Regions from separate parts of the Homo sapiens genome. Here all the other regions are linked to region 2. The links are contacts of gene promoters, found by promoter capture Hi-C in blood cells and fetal thymus (Javierre and others, 2016). All regions are on one chromosome and are shown on one strand. The core of a region is centred on a gene start or on the middle of the fragment in contact, and the rest is flanking DNA. Distances in the headings are between cores, read along the strand shown. Region 1 overlaps PRKCQ (protein kinase C theta). Region 2 holds the start of IL2RA (interleukin 2 receptor subunit alpha). Region 3 overlaps PRKCQ (protein kinase C theta). Region 4 overlaps PRKCQ (protein kinase C theta). Region 5 overlaps TASOR2 (transcription activation suppressor family member 2). Region 6 overlaps PRKCQ (protein kinase C theta). Region 7 has its middle 74 kb from the start of LINC02656.

Region 1 (3,914 bases), core at 1,310-3,809, 440 kb after region 2:
ATTCTTCCCATTAGTTCAAAGCATGACCCAAGACTATGCACTCCTCTTGCCCTCCAACATCTGTCTCTGACTCTTCATTCTGGTTTCAGCAGGAGCCTGCTGGTCTACCTAGGCTGTTCTCCCCACAGCCCTCACACAAGGCATATTCTTGCTCAAGCCTTCACTTTTTCCTCCTTGTAAGGCCATCCCTCTTCTTTAGAAAACTCAACTCTTGCTAACCTTTAATGCCCACACTGTGGAACTTACTGAAATGAAAGCAACACACACTGATCTCTTGGTTAATCAGTATTTGTGTGGTTTAGGTTATAATTTTATCTAATTGTCTAATCTGTACCACCTCTGGGTATATGTTCCCTGAGGAGAAGAACACGTTTTGCTTTTCTGAATCCTTCAGAAGACGATTTCTTATACTAATAATGAGCTTTCTTAAAAGAATGCTCTCCTCCTTGTCATCAACAAGGAATTTTCTAGTTAGGTTATTCCATAACTTTGGTTTTTAAAATTAGATTTTTTTGACACATAAAAATTTAGAGATGGAGTGTCAATTTGGATCTAGATATAAAAAGTTTTAAATATTACAAAGATTTATTCTTTTTTTTTTTTTGAGATGGTGTCTCACTCTGTCTCCCAGGCTGGAGTGCAGTGGTGCAATCTTGGCTCACTGCAAGCTCCGCCTCCCGGGTTCATGCCATTCTCCTGCCTCAGCCTCCCGAGTAGCTGGGACTACAGGCACACACTGCCATACCCGGCTAATTTTTTGTATTTTTAGTAGAGACGGGGTTCCACCATGTTAGCCAGGATGGTCTCGGTCTCCTGACCTCGGATCCACCTGCCTCGGCCTCCCAAAGTGCTGGGATTACAGGCGTGAGCCACCGTGCCCGGCCAAAGCTTTATTCTTAAAACATTTCCTAGGCTTATGTCATTATTGTTTACGGAATATCATTGTTTTTGCCCGATTGAATTTGCTCTCTCATTCTAATAAAATATTTAAGTTCCACAGGAATAGAAGGACCATCCATGGAATTGTTTTTCAAAGCAGGGATCTTAAAATCATTTACCAAAAATACTTGCATTCTGATGAAGGACACTTTTTCTCCTTTCTTTCTTTCTTTCCTTCCTTCCTTTCTTCCTTCCTTCTTTCTTTCTTTTGAAGGACCCTTTTTCTCCTTCCTTCCTTCCTTCCCTCCCTCCCTCCTCCTTCCTTCCTTCCTTTTCTTTCTTTCTTTTTCTTTCTTTTCTTCTTTCTTTCTTTCTCCTTCCCTTCCCCTTCCTTCCTTCCTTCCTCTCTCTCACCCTCTCTCTCTCTCCCTTCCTTCCTTCCTTCCCTCCCTTCCTTCCTTTCCTTTCCTTTCTTTCCTTTCTTTCTTTCACTGTATCATCCACACTGCAGTGCACTGGTGAAATCACTGCTCACTGCAACCTCAATAACCTGGGCTTAAGCGATCCTCCCACCTCAGCCTCACAAGTAGCTGGGACTACAGGCACGCACCACCAACTCTGGCTAATTTTTGTATTTTTGGTAGAGAATGGGTTTTGCCATGTTGCCTAGCCTGGTCTGGAACTCCTGAGCTCAAGTGATCTGCCCACCTCGGCCTCCCAAAGTACTGGAATTACAGGCATGAGCCACCATGCCCAGACAAGACCCTTTTTCAATTTACATTGGGTCATGATTTAAACTAATGGGAGGAATGTATTTCTCTTATTCAAGGAATTAAACATCATTGATACTATTATTTAGGTCAGCACTTTCACATTTTATGCAAATCTGGTTATTCGGATATCCTGCAATCACTCTATTTCAGCCAACTCAAAAGTTGTACTATGTGTACTGTATATCTACACCTTCCAAGAGGAAAAATAAATAAAATTTCAGAGTACATTTTTCCCATCTCAGTAATTCTTTCTTTCTTTTAAAAAAATTTTATTATGGAAAATTTCAAATATACCTAAAAGTTGAGCAAATACTATAATCAATTTTCATATATCAATCATTCAGTTTCAGCAATTATTAACTGATGGCCACTCTCTTTCAATACACCCTGTCCATCCTACACCCCATACCATTGGATTATTTTGAAGCAAAACTATGGTATCATATTATTTTATCTAAAATATTTCAGCTATTCACTGGTTTTTCTTCAGATCGAATAAATCTTTCGCCTTTTACTAAAATATTTCAGCATATATATGTAAAAGATCAGTGTGCCTTTTAAAGAAACATAACCGCAATATTATTATCACACCTAAAAGATGAATTCACCATGCCTCAATATCATCAAATATCTAGTGAGTGTTCAAGTTTTCTATGATTATTTCATAATATTGTTTTCTCTGATGTATTTGTTTGAATTTAGACACGGAGGAATTATATATGGTAAGCCGAAACTCAGAAAGCACCATAAATGTATAAAGTTAAACTTGCTTCTTCTTGGTAGTAAAATTAATTTAGGAAAAAATGAAGTGAATTTACCATCAGTAAGTTTACATGTCCATGCTGTGACTTAGGATTTTCTAAGTAGGGGGATTTGATTCACATACACAGCCCTGACAGCCTGTCTCAGCACATCGTACCGGGAAATTTCACTTCTGTGGCCAAAGTCCACATGTAACATGGAATCAAAACCCTTTAGCAATGTGTTTTCTCACCTTTTCTTGTTCCTAAAAGGACTTGAGGTGACTAACTTCAAGTGTTAGCATTTTGTTACTAATTTTATGGAATATATTGATTGACTTCTTACTTATTTTGTATTCTACTGATAATATGGTAGCTTCTTAGAGCACATCATTTAACCATAGACAATGTGTACACACATAACCACACATCAACAGTCTTTTGTATTTAGACTGAATTCCCAAACTAAACTAAAGACAGAGTATAAGAGCTTTGGGCATATGGATTCACATCACTTAAAACAAGTGCTATAAATGTTTTATATTTCTACGTTTTTCCGGCCCAGATAGTGTCTTTTAAAGTCATGCCTGAGCACCTCTGAGAATTTTAAAACAATTTTGTGCCTCTCTTTTCTCCTGATTCTCTTCTACAATAATTGCAAAGGTAAAATAAGCTGCATTTGAGGAGAAGGCCATGCCCTCCTCACCCCCAAACAGGAAGAAGAAATGTCACTTGCCACTCATTTCCAGAAAGTATCTTGCATTCATTAGCATTCGGCCTTGAGGTTTCAGCTCTAACTGGTTGGGAGAAGGAGAGAAACATCAGTCAGAATGTGAAACAAGCCCTGAGTTCAATGACATCACTGGCTACTGACGATGGCAGGAGATTTCCACCACAGAATACAATCATTGTTACTCTCCACTGTACTCAAACTCATTGTCATCAGACGACTGTAGCAACCGTGACAATCGCCTTTCTTTTCTTAAAACATCCCAGCAATTCATTAATTTTATTTGGAGAGAAAAACTTACATAAGGAAGAAATAAAATCCTAAAACAGATTCTATTTGGTTTTCTTGCCCTGTAATGCTGCGTATCTGAAGGACTGTCACAGGGCAGACCCAGATCTTCATCATGACAAAAGAATCACAGGCACTGGGACTGGCTTCCTTGGGGAAAAAGCTCTTCTTTTGGAGGGAAAGATAAATCCTGCCTCTTTGAGGCCGCCTCCAGGCCCCTGTCTTCTTTTCTACCTGGGATGCATGTCTAGGTTAATCAGGGCATTCAATGGGGATGGCTTTTCTCTTTCACAAAGAGAGATTGTATTTTTAGGAAAGTCTTGGATGGTCCACTAAAGAAAATTCTAATTACACTGATCTGGGAAGGAATTTATAAATGTATATAAATACATACTTCAGTACTGTATTATTATGTAGAAGAGGGCGGAACAAAGTGTCATTTTAAGGGATGATGTAGGATCTCCCATAAAGTGACATAAGGAGAAGAAAGGACAAATCCAAGTT
Region 2 (4,029 bases), core at 324-2,823:
AAATAAAATGCCCTCTTTAAAGACACTCCTACATCTGGGCCAGTACACAGCCCAGCATGACTGGGCACTTCCCCTAAACAAGCAAGCAGACTCCTGAAATGCATCATTATGTTTCATTTCTTAATAAATTCTTTCTACAGCCAGTTAGCATTCTACTTGTTGCCATTATAGACTTTCAAAAAACACTATAAACTTTCTTATCTGTCTTCCTGAGTAAGCAAAGGGAAGACATTATTAGAAAATTCACACTCAATTAGGAAGAGTGGTTTGAGGTAGAAGTTGGTGGTTTTTTATTTCTTTAAAAAAAAATATTGGCCAGGCACGGTGGTTCATGCCTGTAGTACCAGCAGTATGGGAGGCCAGGGTGAGTGGATCACTTGAGCCCAGGAGTTCAAGACCAGCTTGGGCAACATGGCAAAAACCCCATCTCTACAAAAAAATAAATTAACCAGGTGTGGTGGCGTATGCCTGTAGTCCCAGCTACTCAGGAGGCTGAGGTGGGAGGATCGCTAAGCCTGGGAGGCGAAGGTTGCAGTAAGCCAATATCGCGCCACTGCACTCCAGTCTGGCTGACAGAGACAGTGTCAAAAAAAAAAAATCTTCGAGAAAATCCATTTGAAACAAGGAATGAAATTTAAAATTTGCATATATAAACACGTATACATATACATATCATGTATATACATAGGATTATGAGAAGTAGTAATGTTCTAAAAGTGAGTATGCATATTTTTAAAAATTTCTGTAAAGTTGCACTTGTAAGGAAATTCCTAGGTGTTATTTCCTAAGACGTAAAAGCAGTGTATACATCCTTGAAGCTAAACTTTTCTGAGATCTTAAATTCTCCCAGTGTTTGATATATGAGTACTCATGTCTCCAGCAAATTAACCTGAACTTAAAGAGCTTCCTGATAGCTTCTTAGTTGGGGGGTGGGAGTGCAGAGAATAAAAGGAAATTCATTGAAGAATAAAAGATAATTTCTTGAGAAACCTGCTCATCGGGACCCTGTTAACATCCAAATATCCCAAATATCATGCCACACTATTCTTCCCAGAATTAATTGTCAAGGACTGAGAAGGACAGGAGAACCTAATGCTATTTCAGGCTCTCTTGACAGACCAAGGAACAGTGAGGCATAAACTGGGGTCCCCGTGGGTCACAGGCAAGAGGTGGAACCCAAGATTCAACTCCCTTCTTGGAACCATCTACCTGGGGACTCCCTCTGGTTCTGTGGCTGGGAAGAGGGATGCCCATCAGCCTTCCCGGAATTCCGGGGGCACCCACAGGCCCTTACCTGCCTGGCAGCCAGGCACCATGATGAACGTGAGCAGTCCCCACATCAGCAGGTATGAATCCATCTTCCTGACCCTTGGGACCAGCCGGGGCAGTGAAGCGGAGGTCTTTCTCTGCAGAAGGCCCAGTTGCCGTCAGCCTCTTTTTGGCATCGCGCCGGAGGATGTGGGATGGGAAGATCGGTCCGCCTGGGCTGTCACCCTTGTGGGTCCATCCAGTCTCTATCGGAGTCAGGAGTTGCTCTCTTTAAGTATTGGGCTGGCGTGTTCAGCCAGGAAACTGCCTAGCACTCTCTTCTCTCATCTCAAATATAGGAAGTGTTTTTTTTTTTTTTTTTTTTTGATGACAATATAGTTTGCGGTAATTTTTCAAACCAGGTTTTTTTTTTCAAGTTCAATTGCTGGAGGTGTGGGCTGGGGTTGATGAGAAGGATTGAACTTCATTTATGAATCCTTTCTTCAGCTACGCCCATAAAAGGAGAGGGAGATTCCCCTGCCGTTGAAGGTAGGGTGAGCAAGCACTTCTTGGCAGTGGTCTCACCCAGCACTTCATAAGCTGAGTCCTCCCCTCAGGGCTGTAACGTCCTCAGGAGTCAGCCGGGACCACCTGGGATGAAGGAGCAAAGTCCTGACAAGATTCTGGTCAGGCAGCCTCCAATATTCAAATAATGGAGAAGGATGCGGCGAACTGAAGGATCCTGAGAATTCATAAATAATTCCCCAAGGCTTATAACCTGTACTAGCCATCATCATTTCACCACAGTGCCCTGGGCTCCTGAAAGTGCATTGTCATTTTATAAGGTGTTTTGCTTCCAGATTTCTTTCTCTTAAAGGATCATGCAAAAAGTGGGCTTTGGTTTTAAACTTTGGATTATTTTGTAAAATTCAGTCTTGCTTATTTATTGATCAGAGCTCTCTTCTGATTATTATGAAATGGTTGAGTGTGTTTTGCTCCCTGGAAATTTGTCTAAGACTTAAAGCCATTGCATAGTTAGAGCAAAACACAATTTTTTAAATACTAGAAAGCAAGCAAAGATATTAACAAAAAGAAAACCCTCCGGGCAAGCCAAGGAATTCAGGGTTCCAAAACACATCACGTTGACTGGGCCTGGTGGCTCATGCCTGTAATCCGAGCACTTTGGTAGACCAAGGTGGGTGGATCACCTGAGGTCAGGAGTTTGAGACCAGCCTGGATGACATGGTGAAACCACCGTCTCTACTAAAAAAAAAAAAAAAAAAAAAAAAAAAAAAAAATTAGCCAGGCGCAGTGGCACACGCCTGTAATTCCAGCACTTTGGGAGGCTGAGGCAGGCAGATCACCTGAGGTCGGGAGTTTGAGACCAGTCTGGCCAACATGGTAAAACCCCATTTCTACTAAAAATACAAAAATTAGCCAGGCGTAGTGGCGGGCGCCTGTAATCCCAGTTACTCAGGAGGCTGAGACAAGAGAATAGCTGGAACCGAGGAGGTGCAGGCTGCAGTGAGCTGAGATTGCGCCACTGCACTCCAGCCTGGGCGACAGAGTGAGACTTCCATCTCAAAAAACTTGTCAAAATATGACAAGATTCTCTTAAATTCCACAGCAGGTATAACTTCCTCTCTAGGAACGTTTCTCACTCTGCGGGCAAGTGCTCCAGTAGAAACTCCTAGTACTCCCACCAAAGTCACGCTCCTTTCTTCTTGGGCATGGGAGTAGAATGCACTTGCTGCCTCTCCTGGAAAATAGCTTATGCTTTAAGTAGTTAATGTGGATTGTCATTATAAAATATTTAAATTTATGTTAATGTCTTTTTTTTTTTTTTTTTGGAGCGCAATGGCACAATCTTGGCTCACTGCAACCTCTGCCTCCCAGGTTCAAGTGATTCTCCTGCGTCAGCCTCCTGAGTAGCTAGGATTACAGGCACGCGTCACCACATCCAGCTAGTTTTTGTATTTTTAGTAGAGACGGAGTTTCACCATGTTGGTCAGGCTGGTCTCGAACTCCTGACCTTAGGCGATTCACCCACCTCGGCCTCCCAAAGTGCTGGGATTACAGGTGTGAGCCACCACGCCTGGCAATTACAAGATTTTTTTAAAGCCATATCACAAAGCCCCCACAATTTTTCTGGTAAATAAGAGGCCCAACTCTTGGTTCTGAGATGGACCATGGTTAAACAAGTCATTGAACTGGCTTTTCTGGTTCACCTTACGGATGAACGCTCTGTCGTCGTTTGCTGATGCTGAGGTTTCCAGTTGATGCTGCATGGCACGATGCAGGGATGTGAGAAGAAGTTGGGGGTGCAAAAGCAGACCCATTTTGTCACGGATTGCCCAGGATCTCATACTGAAGCTGTAGCAAAGCTTTTGCCCTTAATGAGTTTACAGGTGAAATGGAAAGACACTTGAGTGTCCCTTCCTCCAGGAGGCCTTTTCCAGTCCTTTCTACTCCATCATAACACCTGCCGTGCTGCATTGCAATTCACTGTTTATATCTCTTTCTTTCTTCTAGTTGCTGTTAATCTTTTTTGGATTAAAAACTCTTTTTTGTTTTTAATTTAAGTTCCAGGATACATGTGTAGAACGTGCAGGTTGGTTACATAGGTATAAGTGCGCCATGGTGGTCTGCTGCACCTACTCACCTGTCTTCTAAGTTCCCTCCCCTCACACCCCACCCCCCACCCTGCAGCAGGCCCTGGCGTGTGATGTTCCCCTCCCTATGTCTATGTGCTGTCATTGTTCAACTCCCACTTATGAGTGA
Region 3 (3,626 bases), core at 975-3,474, 410 kb after region 2:
ACTCATGCCCTGAAGCCATAACCGGAAGTAGAGCTTTGTGTGTTCTATGAATAGAAAGTGAAACTCAGTTTTCTTTTTCATAAAAGAAAAATTTCAAAGTGATATTGACCAAGAATGTTCAACTGGTGCATATTGGGAGTGTGGGAGTCAAGGGCAGTGATGTGAATCCAGGAACACTAGCGTTCTGCCTCTTGGCATCACCCTGGGAGGCCTCTCTTCAGAGGCCTGCAAAACCACGGCGGCCTGCCCTCAAATCCAACCTGAGGGAACGACCCAGAGACAGAGCTGTTCCTATAGGATCTAGAGCTACTTAGGTGTGAAATAGTAACACTACTTAAATGTCAGAATACAGATCGGCCTTTCAGAATTCAAAGGAGACACAGAGGAAGGTAGACTTTAGTTCACTTTTAATTTTTAAGGGAAAATTATTTCCTTGAAATTAAAAAGAAATAGCATCCTTACTGTGTTAGATGCATCTTTCCTTTCCAAACAAATTTTAGAAATAAATCCTCTTATTTTTCCACAGTTTTATCAGAGATAGAACACAGAAACTTTGGATACTTGAGTTATTAATCTTTCTTTTACTGCAGCATAACTAAAAAGAGGGAAACTGTTTCAGTGTTTATTTTTCCCTGTGTTTCAAAGTTTTATGGTTAATTATTTTTTTCTAATTGTTTTAAATCTACTTGTAAGTGGATAGTTAAAAGATTTATGACAACTCTTCTTGTAGACAAATTTTATTGTGGATTTTCCTATTTTTTTACTTTTTAAAATGTAAGTAATGGAAACTGTTAAAAATCTAAGTTGGAAATCTAGTAGTGCAAAAGTTGGCTGGCATCCGCACTGAAGGGGGTACTGAGAAGGGATCGTGCAATTTCAAGCCCTGCAGACTTTGTAAGACAGAAAATGTAAATATTAACAACAAAGAAATGTTAGAAAAAAAGTAAAAGAAAGAAGAGCTAGCCCTTCTTTCCTCTTGCCAAGACAGCAGCCTCTCAGAATGCTGATCTACGTTAGACCCTGAGCCAGTAATTTATGCCAGAGCCTGGATGATGTACAAAGTCATTTTGATCTAGCACACAGAAAATTCATTGTGAAGATTCTTTTGATTTGAGCCTCATTCAGATTCAGGTTCAGATTTCATGAATTATCCTGTACATCTATGTCCCCAGACGGTGCCGTCCCATTAGGGCCCCTGGTTTTACAGCTCCCAGCCCCTCTGCCTGTAACTCTTACTCTCTGTCCTGGGCAGGGGTAAAGTGGGTGCCTCAGAGCCCTGTTGATAAACGGCAGAGCTGGGCTTGAACTTCGGAATCCAAGTCCACAGGAATTTTCACATTTTGTAGCTTCCTAAATGGCTTTATCATATTTTCACCCTTCCATAGGTGATATATCCCTCATCTAGGAACTTTAAAAACTTTAACAATTTAATCCAAATGACCCTAATTAATAACAAGTGAATACCTGTCCTCAGAATCTCCTGAATAATCTGGTATTCAACAGGTGCGCTCTTTGGAGGCAGAGAGCAGATGAATAACTTCCTTTAAAAAATAACAATGCCCTGGAGAAGTACATAGTTAATTTATCTTATCTGATGTCTACACTAGCATACACAGGTAACTGTCCTCCCAAGAAAGGTCATTCCCAACATGTTCCCAGAACAAAGCATTATCCATATCACGTATCAATCGTTGCCTTTTGCATTCACTTGTGGTATTTAATCAGTTACTTTGACAAGCAAGGTTTGAATAATTAAGACATCTCAAAAACAACAACTCGGGGTGTTGGAAAAGGTGATTCAAGCTTCTTCCTTTGTTTCTTTCCTCTTTCTAAAAGGACTCAGTTCCTTGAGATCTGAGTCTTGAGCCAGTCAGATTTACATTTCATGTAAACATTCTCTGCTGAAGTTTTTTTTTCTCTCCCAGCACCAATGCTGTGGATGCACTTGTGGCTCAGGTCTTGGTAAAGCATCCCAGCTGCACGGAACTCATTTATGCCTAGTGTTCCATTATTGGAACGCTAAGCATGTGGGAGTTATTTATATCCTACTGCTCAAGGTCATCACCAAGGTCTGATTTCAAAATTCAAAAAGTTGCAACCTCAGGCATAAATGGGTTAAGGAGATCTCTCATAAGAGGGACAGAAACAAATGCTGCCTGAAGCTGTGATGGACAGGCAAGAGAAAGGAGCATACCTATCTTCTACAAAGTGGGATTCCCAATAGCCTTCCCCGTAAGACATGAAAACTGTCATACATGCAAATCAAAAAAAAAAAAAAAAATGGGGAAAAGGCACCAAGAGAAGCACAACTGCCTAAGTGCCCAGAAGCCCAGTCTAAAATGTGTTTATAGTAACATACACAGAAAGATATAATAAAAATAAAATCAGTTATAATCCTACCTCCCAATTAACAACTGTTAGTTTTTCATTATTTTTCATGCTTATACATGCAAATGTTCTTGCTTAAAAGGAAATACTATATATTCTCACTTATGATTTCATAAACAACATTCTGTATTGATGTTTAAGCATTTACATCATCATTTAAAATGGTTATATAGTATTATTTTCTCTGACCATATAATAATTTATTCAATAAATCTGTCATTGGGTATTTGTGTTGTTTCCAATTTTTCGCTACTATGAAAGCTTTACAGTAAAAATCTTTATTTATGGCAAAAAAGAAAAAATGTGTTTAGCAGTTTGCTACAAGCCTCAAAATACTGCAAAGGGAAAAGATTACAGGGAGCCCCAGCATGTGCAGAAAATCTAGACAACAGTACGGAGAGGGTGGCAGAGTTTGTCTCCTTGCCTGCAGGTGACATACCTTCACCCTCCCAACAGCATGGAGAGGGTGGCAGAGTTTGTCCCTTTGCCTGCAGGTGACATACCTTCACCCTCCCAGGCCAATGGGTATTTATCATCTCCAGGAGGGAGTTTCTAGTACAAAATCTCTTCTAGCCTTCATCATGGGAAGTTCCAGCCTGCTCCCTGCAGCAGGAAGCGGGCCTGCATTCTCCTAAATAGTTGACCAGGACACCTCACTCTTTTCTACTTCCTCTCCTGCAGCCACACCTTTCATGCCCAAGGCCCTTTCTGCCCATTCAAATTCCTCTTTCTAGTTTCTCTCAGCTCTGGTACTTTGTGTCTGCCTTCTGATCTAATATTACTCATACTGTTAGAAATGCAGCCTTGACTCTTATTAGAGTGTGAAGTTCTCAAGGTCGGGAGCTGTATTATATACTTCTGTATCCTCCACAGTGCTTTGAGCACAGCATATGCTCAGTAAGTGCTTTGCCATGGTCTGGCTTCTCTTTATCTTAGGTAAGTGCATTTATTCATTGATTTGGTTATTGCACATATGCTGAGAATCTACTGGGAACTGCAGAGGTGGTGATGGATGCCCCAGTTGCCATCCACTTTCCTCATTCATTCCCTGGTTCCCTCATTAATTCTTCCCATGGCTCAAGTCTCCTTAGAAGTTTTCCCTCATTCACTCTCCAGTCGTCATGGCTTGAGATAGAAAATGGGAAAAGGGCTGGGTGCGTTGGCTCACGCCTGTAATCCTAGCACTTTGGGAGGCTGAGGGGGGTGGATCACCTGAGGTCAGGAGTTTGAGACCAGCC
Region 4 (3,796 bases), core at 615-3,114, 470 kb after region 2:
GTCGGAGCTGCCAAGCACGTTCTGGGAAGGCGGATGGGCTGCGTGGAGTTGAGCAAGGGGTAGAGAAGACAGACGAGGTGGGTGTGCCCATGGGGCTGTCCACAGGCCATGGTGAGAACTTGGAGTTCAGGTAGGACACCGCCCGAGGGGTCTACGTGCTGTCTTCAGCTTTGAGTGCAGAGCAGACTTATTTACACCTAGAAAGGGGGTACCCTGGTCCCTGTGTTGAGAGGACTGTAAGGAGCAAGTGCAGAAGAAGAGAGACTACTGGGGGCGACTTCACTCTTCCAGTTGATGGTCGGAGGGCACCAGCAGAAGGACCCTGGCAGCGTGCAGGGATTCCGATATCTCTTGATGGGATGTACCAAGCCACTGAAGATGAGGGGAGGGAAAAGGAGGAGCAGGGCGGCCTCAAGGTTTGGGGCCCCAACCCATGGTAGGAGGCCATCCCCATTCACAAGATGGGAGCACTGCGGGAAGAACTAGATGGCATGAGAAGATGAGACATTTTATTTTGGACACGTTAACTTTGAGATATGGAGAATACAGTTGATAGCTTTTCTGAATCAAGAATTAAGACACATGAACTAAGGATGTAAAAGTTGTATTTTCAGCAGCCAGGTACTGAAACTTCTTGGGCAAGTGGGTACTTATTGGGAATCATGGGACTAGATATTTGAGGTCTATGTCATATAATTTCCATATCTAGAAAACAGCAGTCAGTAAAAGATATAAAAACTGTAATGATGATGATGTTGGTTATGAGGACAACAGCACCCATCACTTACCGAGCAGTTGCTAATCATGGTCATTATGAGAAGGCTCATATTTTCCCTCCCTGTGTTTTCAAACAGAGAGGCTTGCATCCCTCTAACCTATCCTCACTCCTCATCCCTGTACCCCAGGAAGAAGAGTGATTGATCTGATGGATACGTTTGTAAAAGAAAATAAAATCTCAGGCCCCCCAAACCAGTTATGCCAAGGGGAGAGGTAAGCCTGGAAGCCAAGTCCTGCCACCGTGCCATTCTTTTTCCCCAGGAGACAGCGGTCACTTCACAACCCTGTGTCACAGCATTCTACGTAAGCCAGGCTCCCACAATGACAAAAGGCCCCGAGCTTCTCCCAGATGGCCACCGTCACACACTGCTTACGAGGAAATTCCTTTCTGGCCCCTAAATCCTTCAGGATCCACATTCCCCTACAAAACAAGCCTATGCCGATTGCAACCCTAGGACTGCAACCTAAGCTTAACTTCTAAAACTGAGTTCTGTTTTAGGAACTCAACTGACAATGTTGATTTCAAGCTCATCTTCCCAGGTACAGAAGAAGGGCCAGCTGAGATCAGTCACTCTTCTCCTGACTCTGAGGCAGGTGCATAATGGATTTGTTCCTCTGCTCCCTGTTCTCACACATTTACCTTATCTTATGTAAGACATGGATTTGGTAAGCGCTAATTAGAGCCTCACTGCCTCCCTCCTCCCTCTTCCCTCCTGCTTGCCCCCTCTCCTTAAGCACTGAGTTCCTAAAACCCTCTTTGGAAAGCACAGGTCACAGGTGCTTCTGGGGCTGGTGTTTTTCCCGGGTGTGTCCTCAAACTTTAGCTCAATAAACCTCAACTGATAGAGAAACTTGCCTCAGTCACTCATTTTTTGGTTAACATGTTCTACATGAATAAACCGTTCCCACCCATCTCCACCCTCCTCTTCTCATGTTGCAGGATCTGCTGATCTGCAGAACCATTTCTGCACTATCCTTGGCCATGTCATAGGCTGGGGTGGGGTGGGGGCGCATCCTCCTCGGTTGGCAGGGGTGAGAGGGTCCCTGACACAGTCCAGCATCGCCTGGGACGCTGTGAACAGACGACCAACTTATTTGCCTGAACGTTTTAGCCATCTCCATCGATCTGGCCTTTGTTATAACTGGTGGACATGCTTCTCCATCTCCCTGTCTCCTGATCTGCCTCTCCGTTTGTTCTAAGCACAAGCATAGCCAAGAGGGCTTATGTGTTGGATCTCCCACAACCCACAAAACTGTGCAAAGGACTCACAGTGAGTAAGCAACAGCACCTGAACCCAGCTTTGGTGGCTAAGTGTCTCCACCCAAACTAATACGTTATTTCTTGTTAGCAAATGTCTTTGAAGGTTAGGTCAGGGAGGACATGAATGCATAGAGTTTTCGCTGTAGACTGTTTCTGTCTGCTCCCACCTGTCCCTACTTGCAAAGGACATGTTATGACTGTAGGGACAGGCTTTCCTGGCAACTTGCTTAATTATCTTAAGCACTATTAGGATGTTTCTCCTTGTACCTGGGGCTTAATGATCTTTCTTTCTACTCCATGGCTGTGGTTTGAAGAATGAAGAATTGGGTGATATAAACAGAGATGGAGTTTCTCGGAATACCCTAAGTTCTCTTCTGGATGTCAGGGCGCCTGTGCCTATCTGGGTAATTTTCTCAGCATGTCATAAGCCTGTGCAATTCCCTCCAAGCTTCTGCCATTCATGCCTTTAGAAGTGGCTGATTGGGATCAATGAGGATTTCTATGGACAAAGTCTAGAAAGAAGCTAACTTCATCAGATAAAGTTGGGAGGAACTCAGCCTCCCTGGCATCATTTTCTAACCATGGTTAGGATAATCACTTACTAGACACAAAGATGCTGCCTTCTGTAGGAGTAAATGGAAATGTAGGACTCTGCTTCTTGTGTCAAAATTTACTCTGAAAAGACAACCTTCTCTCTGACTCTACCATCTTGTGACCCAGCAGCTCTAACTGAGATGCTGGATCCCTTGCAGTCCTCCTGACATTTCTTCCTGTCATGTAGGTGCTCAGTGAGGAAGAGCACACCACCCAAAACAGGGGCGTCAAGTTGGGGCCAGGGACTCAGGTGCTCTGGTCAAAGGGTACCTAGACTGAGAAGGGGATCTGAAGCCCCTGGGCATGAGGCTTTGCCATTCTCGAACCTTTGCATGGCCGAGTTCAAAAAGGCACAGAGACCCAGGAAGGAGTTAACATGTGAAGGAGCTTGCAGTTTGTAAATGTTGGTGTCATGGAGTATAGGCCAGCTCTATCAGTTTCCAAGCTGTACAGTCTTGGACAAGTGACTTAATCTTTCTGTGACTACATTATCATATCTGCAAAACAAGGTATATAATGGACCCACTTCATCAGGGTCTATGAAGGATTGGGTCTATGTCTGTGTTGTGATGATTTAATGAATTAATCCATGGAAAATGCGTATGACAGTGTTTGGTGGAAAAGATGGCTACGATGATCACACCACACTTTTCTAAAACATCCTTAGAAATTCTCCCTCATGAAAATACCATAGGAACTTGTTTCATGGGTCATCAGACATGGCCCAGAACACCTCTGAACCACTTGCCAAGGGGATGAAGTGACACACACATTTGTTTTTTGCTGTTAGTCACGAAGCATTTGGAATATCTGCCTACTATATTGCAAAGCACTGCACTGGATATGCATATGGGACAGGGTCATGTTCTCAACACATCATGGGGTAGGTATGGGGCAAACCTCTCCTTCCTAGGGCGCGGTCAGAGAAGGAGCCTTCGAGAGCCTGGGCTCCACTTTCTTAACCTTTGATCCCATGAATAGAGACATGGCTGGTTCCCATGAACTTGGCGTCAGAGTCAGAGCAAGAAATGGCAAAGTGAGCTGTCGCCCTTGGGTACACCAGTAGCAAAAACACTCCTGTCCTCCTATGCTGCTGTGACACCACACCCCACTTCCTCCCGCGGGCGTGTGACACTTTTCAAAGAAAATACAGTATTTGGTAGT
Region 5 (3,785 bases), core at 1,274-3,773, 350 kb before region 2:
ACTTGATTTTGGTCAGAGATCAGTTGTTTTTTAGTACTCTTGGAATTTCCTTTGTGGCCAAATTCATAACCATTAGGTTTTGTTTTGGGGCTTTCAGCTCAACTTCATTGAGGTCTAATTTTCATACAATAAAATGAACATAATTTAAGTATATAGTTCAGTGAATTTTGGTAAATGTATATACCATGTGATGACTACACCAATAAAAATAGTGTGTGTCCATCACCCCAGAAAGTTCCCTTGTGCATACCCCACTTGTAGTCAATTTTCCTATTCCTGCCCCCTGCTGTAGGCAACTAATGAAATGCTTTTTATCACTATAGATTAATTTTGCTGCTTCTTGAACTGTATATGTATAGAATTTTACAGTATGTACTCTTGTGTCTGATGACTTTTGCCCAGTTTAATGTTTTGAGATGCATGCATATATCAGTTTTACTTTTTTTAATTGCTGATTATTATTATGTGTGAATATACAAGTTTATCCATTCACCTATTGATGAATATTGGAGTTGCTTCCAGTTTTAGGCTACTGTGAAAAAGCTGCTCTGAACATTCATGTGCAAGTGTTTTTGTGGATATGTTTTATTCTCTTGGGTAAATATCTAGGAATAGAATTTTGGGTCATATGGTAAGTATGTGTTTATAAGAAACTGATGTTATTTTTTAAATTGGCTATATAATTTTTCAGTTGGCTTTATATTTCTACTAGGAGTGTTCCAGAGGCTCCTCATCCTTGCCAACGCTTGGTATTTTCAGTCTTTTTAGCCATTCTACTGGAGCAGTAGTATTTTATTGTGGTTTTAATTAGCACTTCCCTGATAACTAATAATATTGACCCATTTCCCATGTTTCTTTTTATTATATGCTTTATTTTGTGAAATGTGTCTATGAGTTTTTTATATATTCTAGGTACAGGTACTTTACAAATATTTCCCATTTCTTAATAATGATACCTTGGAAGATCAGATGGTTTTAATTTTTAGGAAGTCTGATGTATACATTTTTCTAGGTCACTAATTTTGTGCCCTATGAAAACTTTATGTACCCCATAGTCAAGTACATTTTTTCCTATGATTTTTTAAATTTTATAATTTTAGCCAAATAGTTATAGTTTTTATGTTTAGGTCTGTGATTCATTTTGAGTTAAATTTTATGGTTTAAGGTAGAGGTTTGAGGTTCATGTTTTTTTCCTCCGTTTTAGTTGTTCTGTAGCAGCATTTATTGCAAAGATATTCTTTCTCAATGGAATTATACTGGCAATATTGAAAATCTGTTATCTGGACTCTATTCTGTTCCATTGATCTATATGCATTTTCTTTGTATCATTACCACCTTGTCTTGACTACTTTAGCTTTGTAGTAATTCTCAAAATCAGGTAGTGAGTCCTTCAGCTTTGTTCTTTTTCAAAATTGTTTTGGCTTATATCTTTCTTATATAAATTTTAGAATCAGATCATCAGTTTCTGCAAACTGAGATTGTGTTGAATCTGTAGATCAATTTTGTGTCTTAACATCCCCCAGCAAAGTTAGAAAGCCAGGCAGTAATATCAGAGGGCACAAGCCCAGATTGAAGCTGGAAGACATAGTGCTCCAGAAAGGTCCTTCCAAAAAAAAGAAAAGAAGCTGCTCAAAACAGACAAAATCTTTGATCTATCTTTATCCAGAGGATATTGTTAGTTCTCTAGAATTTCAAGCTGAAATAATGATTGGTAACTGAAAATTAAGCTATTTTAAATTCAGAAAAGCAAAACACGGTATAAGGAAAGAACTTGACTACACAGTATGGCTCAGCAATGATTAATACATACAGTTAAGTAGTGAAACCTAGGCCTAGCACGGTGGCTCATGCCTGTAATTCCAGCACTTTGGGAGGCCGAGGTATGCAGATCACTTGAGGCCAGGAGTTCGAGACCAACCTGGCTAACATGGTGAAATCCCATCTCTACTAAAAATACAAAAATTAGCCGGGCATGTTGCTGGGCACTTGTAATCCCAGCTACACGGGAGGCCGAGGCAAGAGAGTTGCTTGAACCCGGGAGGTGGAGGTTGCAGTGAACCAGAATCAAGCCACTTACGCTCCAGCCTGGGCCACGGAGCAAGACTCCGTCTCAAAAAAAAAAAAGTAAGCACCCAACAAATGTTAGCCATTGTTATCATTAATAACAATAGCTTCCTTGCTAACAAATACTAGGATAACGTCTCTATCCATGGCAGCAAAGAAAAAAGGAATTTGCTAAGTTATCTGATGCCAGTGCACCATGCCTCATGCACAGCAAGCCTTCAGTAAAGTTCCTTGTAGAGTCACAACTGAAAGGAGCTTTAGAAAGGCAATTATAACTAAAGGAGGCCTTAGAGAGTATAAATTTAACAAAATCCATCAGTTAGTATGTCTTCAGCTTCCAATAAAAGTTTAAACAATAAGGAACATTTATTATTTCATGTATAAAGCCCAAAGATGAGGCAGCCCCCAGGTTAGTTTATTTCATCAGTTCAGGGATCTAGTTTCTTTCTGTTCTGTTCCGTTCTATGTTGGCTGCCATCTTGGTTGCAAGGAGATCCAGGCAACACATCTTCAGACAAGATCCTAGGCTAGAAGATGGAGTCCTTTTCTAAGAAAGGTTTCCCAGAACTCTCTCTGTAGACTTCCATTTATATCTCACTGGCCAGAACTGAGTCACATGTTTATTCCTAAAACAAACACTATTCAAAGGGAGTGGAATTACCATAATGATCTTAGAGTAATTAAGATTCTCATTCTCTTTCTCTCTCTCTCTCTCTCTGTCTCCCCCCCCAACCCCACACACACACATACTCACTCTCCCTCACTCATTTTCACACACACACACACACACACACACACACACACACACACACACACACACTTCTTCTGAACCATGGGATAACCTGATACCTGAACAAAATTGTGGTTTTATGGAAGGGAAGTAAAAGGGACATGATTGTTGGGAAGTCAATCCAATGTGTCTTTAACCACTGTCTCAAAACACATTAGTGGTAGCACCTAGTGAGTTCAATAGGTAGACCAGAACCCTGGTCTCCCTATTCCTAATTTTCCCCTACATAAACAACCTCCTTCATGAATTATTATCAACATAGCTACTTTTCCTAAAAAATTTTGAATGTATCCACACAATTCTACCTCCAGTTCTTTTTGGGGGGAAAATGTGCTGTAAAACTATACATGCTGTTTTTGTGAAGCATATGAAAATCCTTATTCCACAGACTCATGATAAAAACTGAAAACTTGACCACCTTTGTAATCTTTTTCTTCGTTCTTATTCTTCTCTCCCTTCTTCCCTTAATCAGTCATATTAAACTATTTGCAGTTCCTTTAATGTATCATGTTTAAACCGCTGTTCATTTGCTCATACTATTTCTGCTATCTAGAAAATGTACACTAGTTTCCTTTTTTGGCTTCCTCATTGGAATATCTTCCAGATTTCAAGTATCTGTGCCTCCATGAAATCTTTCTTGACATAGCTCCATCTCCATAAAATTGGTTGTATCACTGTACATCCACTATATCATGTTTTAGATACTCCTACACATTTATAGTACTAATTTCTTTGCAGATTTTTCTTCCTTGTCTATTCTGAGCTAACTTGCTTGCTTTCTCTTTCTTTCCTTTCTTTCTCTTTCTTTCTTTCTTTTTCTTTCTTTCTCTCCTTTTCTCTCTCTTTCTCTATCTCTTCCTTCCTCCCTCCCTCCCTCCCTCCCTTCCTCCCTTCCTTCCTTCCTTCCTTCCTTTCCTTCCTTTCTTCCTTC
Region 6 (4,117 bases), core at 1,242-3,741, 500 kb after region 2:
AGCCGAGATTGCACCACTGCACTCCAGCCTGGGCGACAGAGGGAGACTCCATTTCAAAAAAAAAAAAAAATTTATTCTTTTCAAATTGCTGACTAAAAAATTCTTCCTTGAGGCTGGGTGCTCATACCTGTAATCCCAGCACTCTGGGAGGCCAAGACAGGCAGATTGCTTGAGTCCAAGGGTTTGAGGCTAGCCTGGGCAACACAGCGAAACTGTGTCTCTACTAAAAATACAAAAAGTTAGCTGGGTGTGGTGGTGTGCACCTGTAATCCTAGCTACTCAGGAGGCTGAGGTGGGAGGATCACCTGAGCCTGGGAGGTGCAGCCTACATTGAGCTGAGATTGTGCTGTACTCCAGCCTGGACCACCAGAGTGAGACCCTGTCTCAAAAAAAAAAAAAAAAAAAAAAAAAAAGAAACAAGAAAAAAAGAAATGTTTCCTTGAATAAGGGTATCTTTTTGAACTTTTTGGAATCTTGTGCTTCAGGACCCTGTCAAATATTACTAAACAATACATATCTGAGACAATCAGAAATTTGACGTGAACCTACAATTGATTTACATACACAGAAACACACTGACTCAAAAGTCAATTAAAAAGTTACAAAGGCCTATGCCAAAAAATAATTTATGTAGATCTCACAGTATGACAGAATAGATTACTTTTTTAAATTCTCAGAACGGCTCCATAAAGTTGAAGTTCAAACCTCCAAGTTATGACTCAAGAATGTTAATCTGGCCACCATTCTCGCTGGTTTTTAATTAAACAAACTTTCTTCTTAACAGCTCTTTGCAAGTGACAGTCGTCAGTACGTATGTGTGTGGGTGTGGGCATGTATGTTGATATGATAGAACTTGCTGTTTTTAATGTGTTTAGCATGTTATTAAACACAGCATGAAAGAGTTGAGGAAAGCAGGAAGAAGGGAGGAGAGTTCAAGCAAAAAGTAAAGGGAGTTGGAGATCTGAGGTGAATAAAAGTCTGAAAAAGCAGATTAGGATTCTAAAATAAGCTTTTAAGGTTTACTTAAAATATAGTTTAAAATTTACAACATTGTCAGTTCAAAATAATGCTGGTAGGAAGGAAATACATTGAGCCACGGACCTGGCATCTGGAGATACCGGAAAGGAAAGAGAGAGGGATTGAGGTGGACGCTCGTGGGTAAGGAAGAACGAAGGAGAAGCCCACTCAGGCTTGTCTATGAACTCATCTGTGTGGTTCTCCTGCAGGGCAGCCTCATAAATGCCCCGGTCAGTGCTGGACCCCAAAGAAAACCACTGTGGCCATCTCCTGTCTCCCTCACAAGTTTTCCCTGAAAAGACAACAACTTCCGGAGTTCCATGCGGTTTTTCAGCCTTTTCCAAATCTCTCTAAACACCAGGAGGAATGTTCACATGCTTCAGCAGAGAGACGCACGCTTCAGGGCCCAGCAGAGAATGCCTGGAGAAGAACCCAGCCAAGCCGACTGGATCTTAGCAGAGCTCCCGGCTTGATGATTATGCTCAACCAGAGTGAGTGTTCTCTCCATTACTAACATAAGTAATACATTGGACAGCAAAACAAGGAAATAGCCCCAAACAGTAATTGAGATATAAAGGGAGAAGGAAGTCTCAAAACCCACTTCTCAGAATTAACTCCAATGTCAGGTAGTATTTTTAAACATAAGTCAGTAGATAAGGTATAGTCCCAAAATCAGGCTTTGCTACATGGAGTATTAAGAACACAGATCATGGCATCAAACTGCTTGAGTTCAAATTCCAGTTCTGCTGTATGGTAGCTCTGTGGCTTTAAACAAGCTATTTAACCTCACTTTTCTTATCTGAAAAATGAGGATCATAATAGGATTAAATGGGTTAATGGATGCAAAGTGATTAGAACAGTTACTAGTAGACAGAAAAAGCTCAGTCTATGTTAGCTATAATTATTATATACTCAGAGTCAAAAGAACACTCATCATGTTTTCTTCCAAGATTTAGCACTAAAATATTTTCTGTAGTGATTACTTTTTAGTTTTTTTGTTGAAAAAAGGCTATGGATTCTTTCAAGGTGGGCTTCCTTGGTTGGCTCTCAGCTGCCACCTCCCCTCCCCCAACAAAACAATAGCCCCTGTCCCTTGTCAACTAGATCCCAGCGCACAGTTTCACTTTAAAGGCATGCAATCACTTTGGCTCAAGAGTGAAGATATTCAGTCGAAAGTGAAGTAAGTGACAGCTAGGATTTCAGAGCGTAAGTCTCACAGTTCCAAGAGTCCCGGAAGCAGCAACCTCACTTTGCCCAGTGCCTCTCCTCCTCTTCTCGGTGACAGGGAGGTCTACTGCATGCCTACTATGACTGAGCTCTACTGCATGTCTGGAGGTGCGTGGGTGGGATTCTGGGTGCCCTGCCTTCTGAGTCCAGGTCAGGGCTCTCCCCATGGGGACAGGTCTCCATGGCCCGTCCTGATGTTGGGCCATCTCTCCTACCTTGTCACTGCCTCTTCCCTATAAGCCCCTCACCATGACACATGCCTCGATTTCTCTTACATCGAATCAGATTTTCTGCTTTACTTTCTATGCTTGTTCGCGTCTCTTGACTACCTAGAGTGCTCTCAGCCTCCAATTGCAGTCTAAGCCCACCGCTTTGTTCCTCCTCTTCCTGCCTCCCCAGGCTCCAACTCTCCATGGGATCACACCGCCTTCTTCCTGTACAGGGTTTTCTGGTCTTTTCCCTCCGACACTCCTCCACTCTGTCATTTACCTATACTGAGCTGACATTCCACCAAAATTTACTGAGCACTTGCTATGTGTGGGACTCTCTGCTCAAGCCGAGGGCTAGGGGCTAGACAGACAAAGAGATGCAGAGCCTGCCCTTGGGAGCTCACAGTGCAGTTGGGGAGGGAGGAAGGGTGTGTTAGTGCTGCTGAGCTGTCCATGTGCACAGCATGCCAGGGCACGCAGAGGAGGGACACCTTGACACAGCCCGTGGGGGCCTTTGCAGAGGAGGTGAGGTCTCAGGGGTTAGCAAAGTAACGATGTGAGCGTGAGGAAGTGCACTCAGGCCTGGGATCAGGTGCAGAGCTGTAAAATGCAAGAGGCTTCTGGGGAGCTACGAGGTGCTCAAGGACCCAAGGGAAACCTGAGTCTGGCAGGCAGGGCACAGGCTGGGAAGAACTCACGGGCCCCGCAAAGATTCGGGATTCTATTTTGCAGGTGATATGGAGTAACCAAAGAGCTTTGCAGGGGAGTGCAGCAATCATTTTCGTTTCAGCAAGATCCTCTACCGCACATCTTCAGCGGTGTGAAGAGCGAGACTAGAGGCTCAATCTCGGAAACTAAACGAGGTCCTCTGTAGGAAATATTATGGTATAAATGGCTGCAATACTATTGCTCGATGGCGTTTTCAAAGGCAGCTGCTGCAGCCTATCCCTTTCCCTCCCACCTGTCCTTCTGCGATGCCACTGTACTGCTCGCCCAGAAGTGCCCTCTGCTGCCCCTCCTTGATCTTGCCTGGCCCGTGACCTGTTTTTCACCCAAAGACCAAAGCAGCAGGAACTTCCTACTTTGGGGCCACATATGGAGGAAGACGGGGTGGGGGAATCTCAACCTCCTAGCTGCATCCACCCAGGGGCCATATAAGGGAGTGACCTCATCTCAGGTCTGACTGCAACCTTATGAGAGGGCCCTAGGGATGCTCTGAAGACCAAAACCGCCAAGCCAAGGCTGACCCAAATCCCTAGCCCACAGAATCAAGAACAAATACAATGGTGCTGTTTTTTTAAGCCACTAAGTTTGGGAGCAGTTTGTTCCATAGCAATTGATATCTTCAAAGCAATGCTCTGGGTCAAATAAACAATGTCAAATAAAGAATAAACTCCCCGCTGACAATTTCAGGACAATAGCATGGGTCCACTGTCAATATATACCCACTTGTACTTCATCCTTAATTACTTGCTACCAAATCCCATTTCAAGCCTTTGTCACACTTAACTGATTAGGGCTTAAGCTTTTTAAAAAGCGGTTTTCAGAAAATGTAATCCTCTGACTCTATCTTGCAAAAGACTAAGAAAATGTGGCATGTGGATTAAAATTCCCTGGAGTTTCGTTTGAATTTTCCTATGGGTAGTGTTTAGATGAACATTCAA
Region 7 (3,602 bases), core at 225-2,724, 360 kb after region 2:
ATCTAGTTCCAGCTCTTCTTCTATGATTCTGGGAAAGATGTGTAATCTTTCCAAACCTCAGTGTCCTTGTTGATAAAATGGAGACAATGATGCTGTCCTCAGAGATTGTCGTCAGGGGTTAAATGAGGTAATATACACAAAGCACTTCACCCAGTACCTGGTAATTGCAAGAATTTTCCAGAAGGAAAACTGAGCTCTCCTTCTGCCACCTGGGAGTAGGGCAGTTGGTGCATTCCAACAGCATATTTTATAGTCAAAGCTTCATCCGCAGTAGAGTGAAGAAACGACATGGAAGGCAGAAGCTGGGGGCAGAAAACATGTTCCCTGGCTGGGCATTTCCTTCCTGTCCTCATGGTGAGACATCATTGATCACTGTGGTCACTGTGCCTCTCAGATGACCCCCTGGTGGGAGTTGCTGCCAACCTCTGAGGGTCCTTCTCAGACAGTGAGTTGGGTGCTGTACAGAAACAAACTTGGGTGGCGCCTACTCCATTTCCAAATATCTCTGGGCTCTGGGAGTTTGGCCCAGCTCTTCACTATGCTTATTTCAGAGGACAAATAGAGGTGGGAGGCATCTCTGGACAGCAACAGCTGGTGTGGTCAGCAAAGGCAGGAGGCTGATGCTGCAGCCAGGCCTGGGGTGGGTTGGCTTTGGGGTTGTTTATGAGATGTGTTGGCCCTTTCAGCCTGGTAGGAGAGAATGAGCAAAAGCCCTAGAGCAGGAGCAGACATCAGGCATGTAGGGAACAATGAGTCAGCCAGCCTGGTGCTCACGGCAGTGTGGTGTCTTGCTCTGATATACACACACAGGCACACGCATGCCCCAGGGACACACTCAGTCTCTTTGGGTTCCGGACTTATTTAGGACGCAGGGAGAAACAAGGAAGTTGGGGCTCCTTCCCTCATCACTGACCCTCCAGGAGACTGAGCAGACGGCATTGAGGGAAGGAGAGCAGCCAGTGGCTTCATTCCCCGGCCTGCCGTCGGCTGGGGGCTGCTGCCCATCAGGATGGTTCCCTGAGTCAGAGAGAGGAATAACACAGGACTGACTGGAGGGCTGCCTGCAAGACTCCCAGCACCTTGGGGACCCCTCAGTAACTCCGGGAAGTGAGAGCAACTTACTGGAAGTTGCTAGTCTTAGCCCTCCTTGAGTCACCCACACTGCGGTGGCAGGACGACCCTGTGTCTCTGCTACTGTGACCGACCCTACCTCCTGGCTTCTGCTGCCCATCCCTTTGGCTGCCTTGTGGTCTTTACCAAATGCCTCTTCTCTTGGCCATCTGGTTTTTGCCTCTGTCTAAAATTCTTCAGGAGAGAGGACCTGATACCTAAGTCCAGTTAATCCTGTAGTGCCTGTAGGACGAAGTAATTTCCACCAGGCATTCTCGTGTGCCAGGCCCCACACAGACAGAGGATTGTAGAGACGTGCTCACCCACATCCTATTCACCCACTCACTCAACAAATGCACGTGATGGAGGAGTGTCTGCCAGGGTGGTAGGCTCGGTGGTAAAGAGCGTGGTCCCTACGTGCAAGAAATCTCCTGTGTAGCTGTGGCACCAAGAGCAACATCACTGTCACTCTAGGGCTTGTCTGTGTGTAAACAAGCAAAATTCTCGGGGCAAAACCAAACCAAACCAACACCTTTATTATTTGCGCCCACCATCCATTCAGACCTGCTCTGTGGGGCTCATTCTTCCAAACTTTGGCTGAAATCTCAGAGGTCCCATGACCTTTCCGGTGACATTAGACATGTCCTTCAGTTGCTCCCTCAAGATTCATTTCTGTAACTTACATGTGCAATGCCATGAATAATTGAAAACCGATTTAAAGTTGACCCTGTCCTCTCATCTAGCTCGAGAGGGCAGTGCTGGTGGCTTGTGGTGGGGAAGGCACGTGGTCAGCGTCTTCATACTTCTCACCCGCCCATGCTCAGTCCTCTCCTTCCGCAGTCCGATGACCATGGTTTCTGCTCCTTCTTCCCCGAAGTTGGGAAAGGACAGAGAAAGGAGAGAGGTGGCAGGAGAAGTCTTCCTTGGTTTGCATTGTTGTGAGTGGGTTCTGGGATGTTCCCGGTCTGTGGGTGTTTAAGGCTGATGCTTCCTCTGTTGGCCATCATTGATGGGTCCATTGGAGACAGAGGCTCTGAGAGCTCAGACCCCTGCCTGCAGTTTTATGATGTAACAAAGGCATTTCTTCTTCTCTGGCTGATTTACGACTTCTTCCTCTCTCCTAAGCATGGTCTTGCTGGACGGGATCTGAGAAAATCCTGGTCAATGCTCTCTCTGTGGCCAGCCTCTCGTGCACAGGGAGCTCTCAGCCAAACTCTCAGTCTGTATCTTCCAAAAAGAAGCACTGATCTCTCTTTTTCCAAAACCTTTAACTATACCCTGAGGTAAAGTTCTCATTTCTATTGGCAAGGTTGAGTCTAGGCTAAAGTGCAAAGTGGAGGGGAACTGGGAGTGGTGATGAGAGGACCGGCATCGAAGAGACTGGCCCCCGCACTGCGTCCCCTAGAAGGGGGACAGGTAAGCCAGGTGTGGCCCTGAATTAGGAAGTCCACTTAAAACTTTAGTGAACAATCATCAGATGCTGATTGGTGGATGTCGCTGAAACCCTGCACTCTGGAATGAAGCAAGATCTGATGCTAAGAGTTCTGGGTTCAAGTCTCCACTGGTCAACCCTCTAGTGTAAGCTTTATGGTCTCCCTGGGCCTCAGGTCTCTCCTCTATTTTTTTTTTTTTTTTTGAAACAGAGTCTTGCTCTGTCGCCCAGGCTGGAGTGCAGTAGCGCGATCTCAGCTCACTGCGACCTCCGCCTCCCGAGTTCAAGCGATTCTCCTGCCTCAGCCTCCTGAGTAGCTGGGATTACAGACGCGTGCCACCATGCTCAGCTAATTTTTTGTATTTTTAGTAGACGGGGTTTCACCATGTTGGTCAGGCTGGTCTCAAACTCCTGACCTCATGATCTGCCTGCCTGGGTCTCCCAAAGTGCTGGGATTACAGGCGTGAACCACCGCACCTGGCCAGGTCTCTCACCTATTAAATAGGGATATTAATAAGCAATTTCAGAGGACACCTGAAAGAATAGAAGGAAGTAACAAGTACTTCGCACACTCAGAAATACGAAGCAAATAGTAAGCTTGTTAGTCACCTGACATATTCATACAGATGACATTTATTAAAAACAAATGATGAGGCCTGTAATCCCAGCACTTTGGTAGAGTGAGGCAGGGGGATCATTTGAGTCCAGGAGTTCAAGACCAGCCTAGGAAACATAGGGAGACTCTGTCTCTAATTCAAAAAAATAAAAAATAAAACAAACAAAACCAAATGATGAATAGACCTTATTTTGGTCTAGTGGAGGGGATAAAAGTTGCGTTGGTTCCTGTTTCTAAGAGCCAACAGTCTTCACTTATTTGTCTCCTGGTAGGGGTCCTGTTGGGGTCTCTGGGTGTCAGGAGGATGCTGGGTGCTGGGGCAGGGGTATGTGGGAACCCAGAGTGAGGAGAGGACGACTGGAAGGAAAATGGGGTAGAGCTGCCCCCAGGCCTGCAGCGAGTGGAATCCACGAGTGTCTGTGTTTTGGAAAGTGTTGCTCACTG

Evidence for each region. The method cuts DNA at HindIII sites, captures the fragments that hold promoters and counts their contacts. A CHiCAGO score of 5 or more calls a contact.
Region 1: a fragment that was not itself captured here is called in contact with the fragment with the promoter of IL2RA in region 2 in 1 of 17 cell types (activated CD4 T cells); the score reaches 5.5 in activated CD4 T cells.
Region 3: a contact is called between a fragment that was not itself captured here and the fragment with the promoter of IL2RA in region 2, in 1 of 17 cell types (activated CD4 T cells). The highest score is 5.7, in activated CD4 T cells.
Region 4: a fragment that was not itself captured here is called in contact with the fragment with the promoter of IL2RA in region 2 in 1 of 17 cell types (activated CD4 T cells); the score reaches 5.5 in activated CD4 T cells.
Region 5: a contact is called between a fragment that was not itself captured here and the fragment with the promoter of IL2RA in region 2, in 1 of 17 cell types (total B cells). The highest score is 5.2, in total B cells.
Region 6: a fragment that was not itself captured here is called in contact with the fragment with the promoter of IL2RA in region 2 in 1 of 17 cell types (activated CD4 T cells); the score reaches 5.3 in activated CD4 T cells.
Region 7: a contact is called between a fragment that was not itself captured here and the fragment with the promoter of IL2RA in region 2, in 3 of 17 cell types (endothelial precursors, monocytes and neutrophils). The highest score is 5.3, in endothelial precursors.

The regions. Positions count from the first base shown.
Region 1 is chr10:6,504,308-6,508,221 of GRCh38, forward strand. It overlaps PRKCQ (protein kinase C theta), which reads right to left. Exons shown (of 18, transcript NM_006257.5): 4 at 3,129-3,189. Among named protein-coding and RNA genes, the nearest start is that of PRKCQ, 74 kb to the right of the region's middle. The HindIII fragment of the contact is 3,347 bases long and covers 887-3,914 here.
Region 2 is chr10:6,060,794-6,064,822 of GRCh38, forward strand. It overlaps IL2RA (interleukin 2 receptor subunit alpha), which reads right to left and starts at 1,574. Exons shown (of 8, transcript NM_000417.3): 1 at 1,295-1,574. The coding sequence starts at 1,358. RefSeq lists an enhancer at 1,285-1,334 and a cis regulatory region at 1,327-1,957. The HindIII fragment of the contact is 7,385 bases long and covers 1-3,630 here.
Region 3 is chr10:6,474,050-6,477,675 of GRCh38, forward strand. All of the region lies in intron 12 of PRKCQ (protein kinase C theta), which reads right to left. Among named protein-coding and RNA genes, the nearest start is that of PRKCQ, 100 kb to the right of the region's middle. RefSeq lists an enhancer at 1-130. The HindIII fragment of the contact is 846 bases long and covers 1,802-2,647 here.
Region 4 is chr10:6,526,623-6,530,418 of GRCh38, forward strand. The region is part of intron 1 of PRKCQ (protein kinase C theta); the gene reads right to left. Among named protein-coding and RNA genes, the nearest start is that of PRKCQ, 52 kb to the right of the region's middle. The HindIII fragment of the contact is 1,240 bases long and covers 1,245-2,484 here.
Region 5 is chr10:5,704,892-5,708,676 of GRCh38, forward strand. The region is part of intron 1 of TASOR2 (transcription activation suppressor family member 2); the gene reads left to right. Among named protein-coding and RNA genes, the nearest start is that of TASOR2, 22 kb to the left of the region's middle. The HindIII fragment of the contact is 5,278 bases long and covers 1-3,785 here.
Region 6 is chr10:6,560,984-6,565,100 of GRCh38, forward strand. All of the region lies in intron 1 of PRKCQ (protein kinase C theta), which reads right to left. Among named protein-coding and RNA genes, the nearest start is that of PRKCQ, 17 kb to the right of the region's middle. The HindIII fragment of the contact is 2,969 bases long and covers 1,008-3,976 here.
Region 7 is chr10:6,422,497-6,426,098 of GRCh38, forward strand. It overlaps a transcript of PRKCQ not described here. Among named protein-coding and RNA genes, the nearest start is that of LINC02656, 74 kb to the left of the region's middle. The HindIII fragment of the contact is 2,434 bases long and covers 258-2,691 here.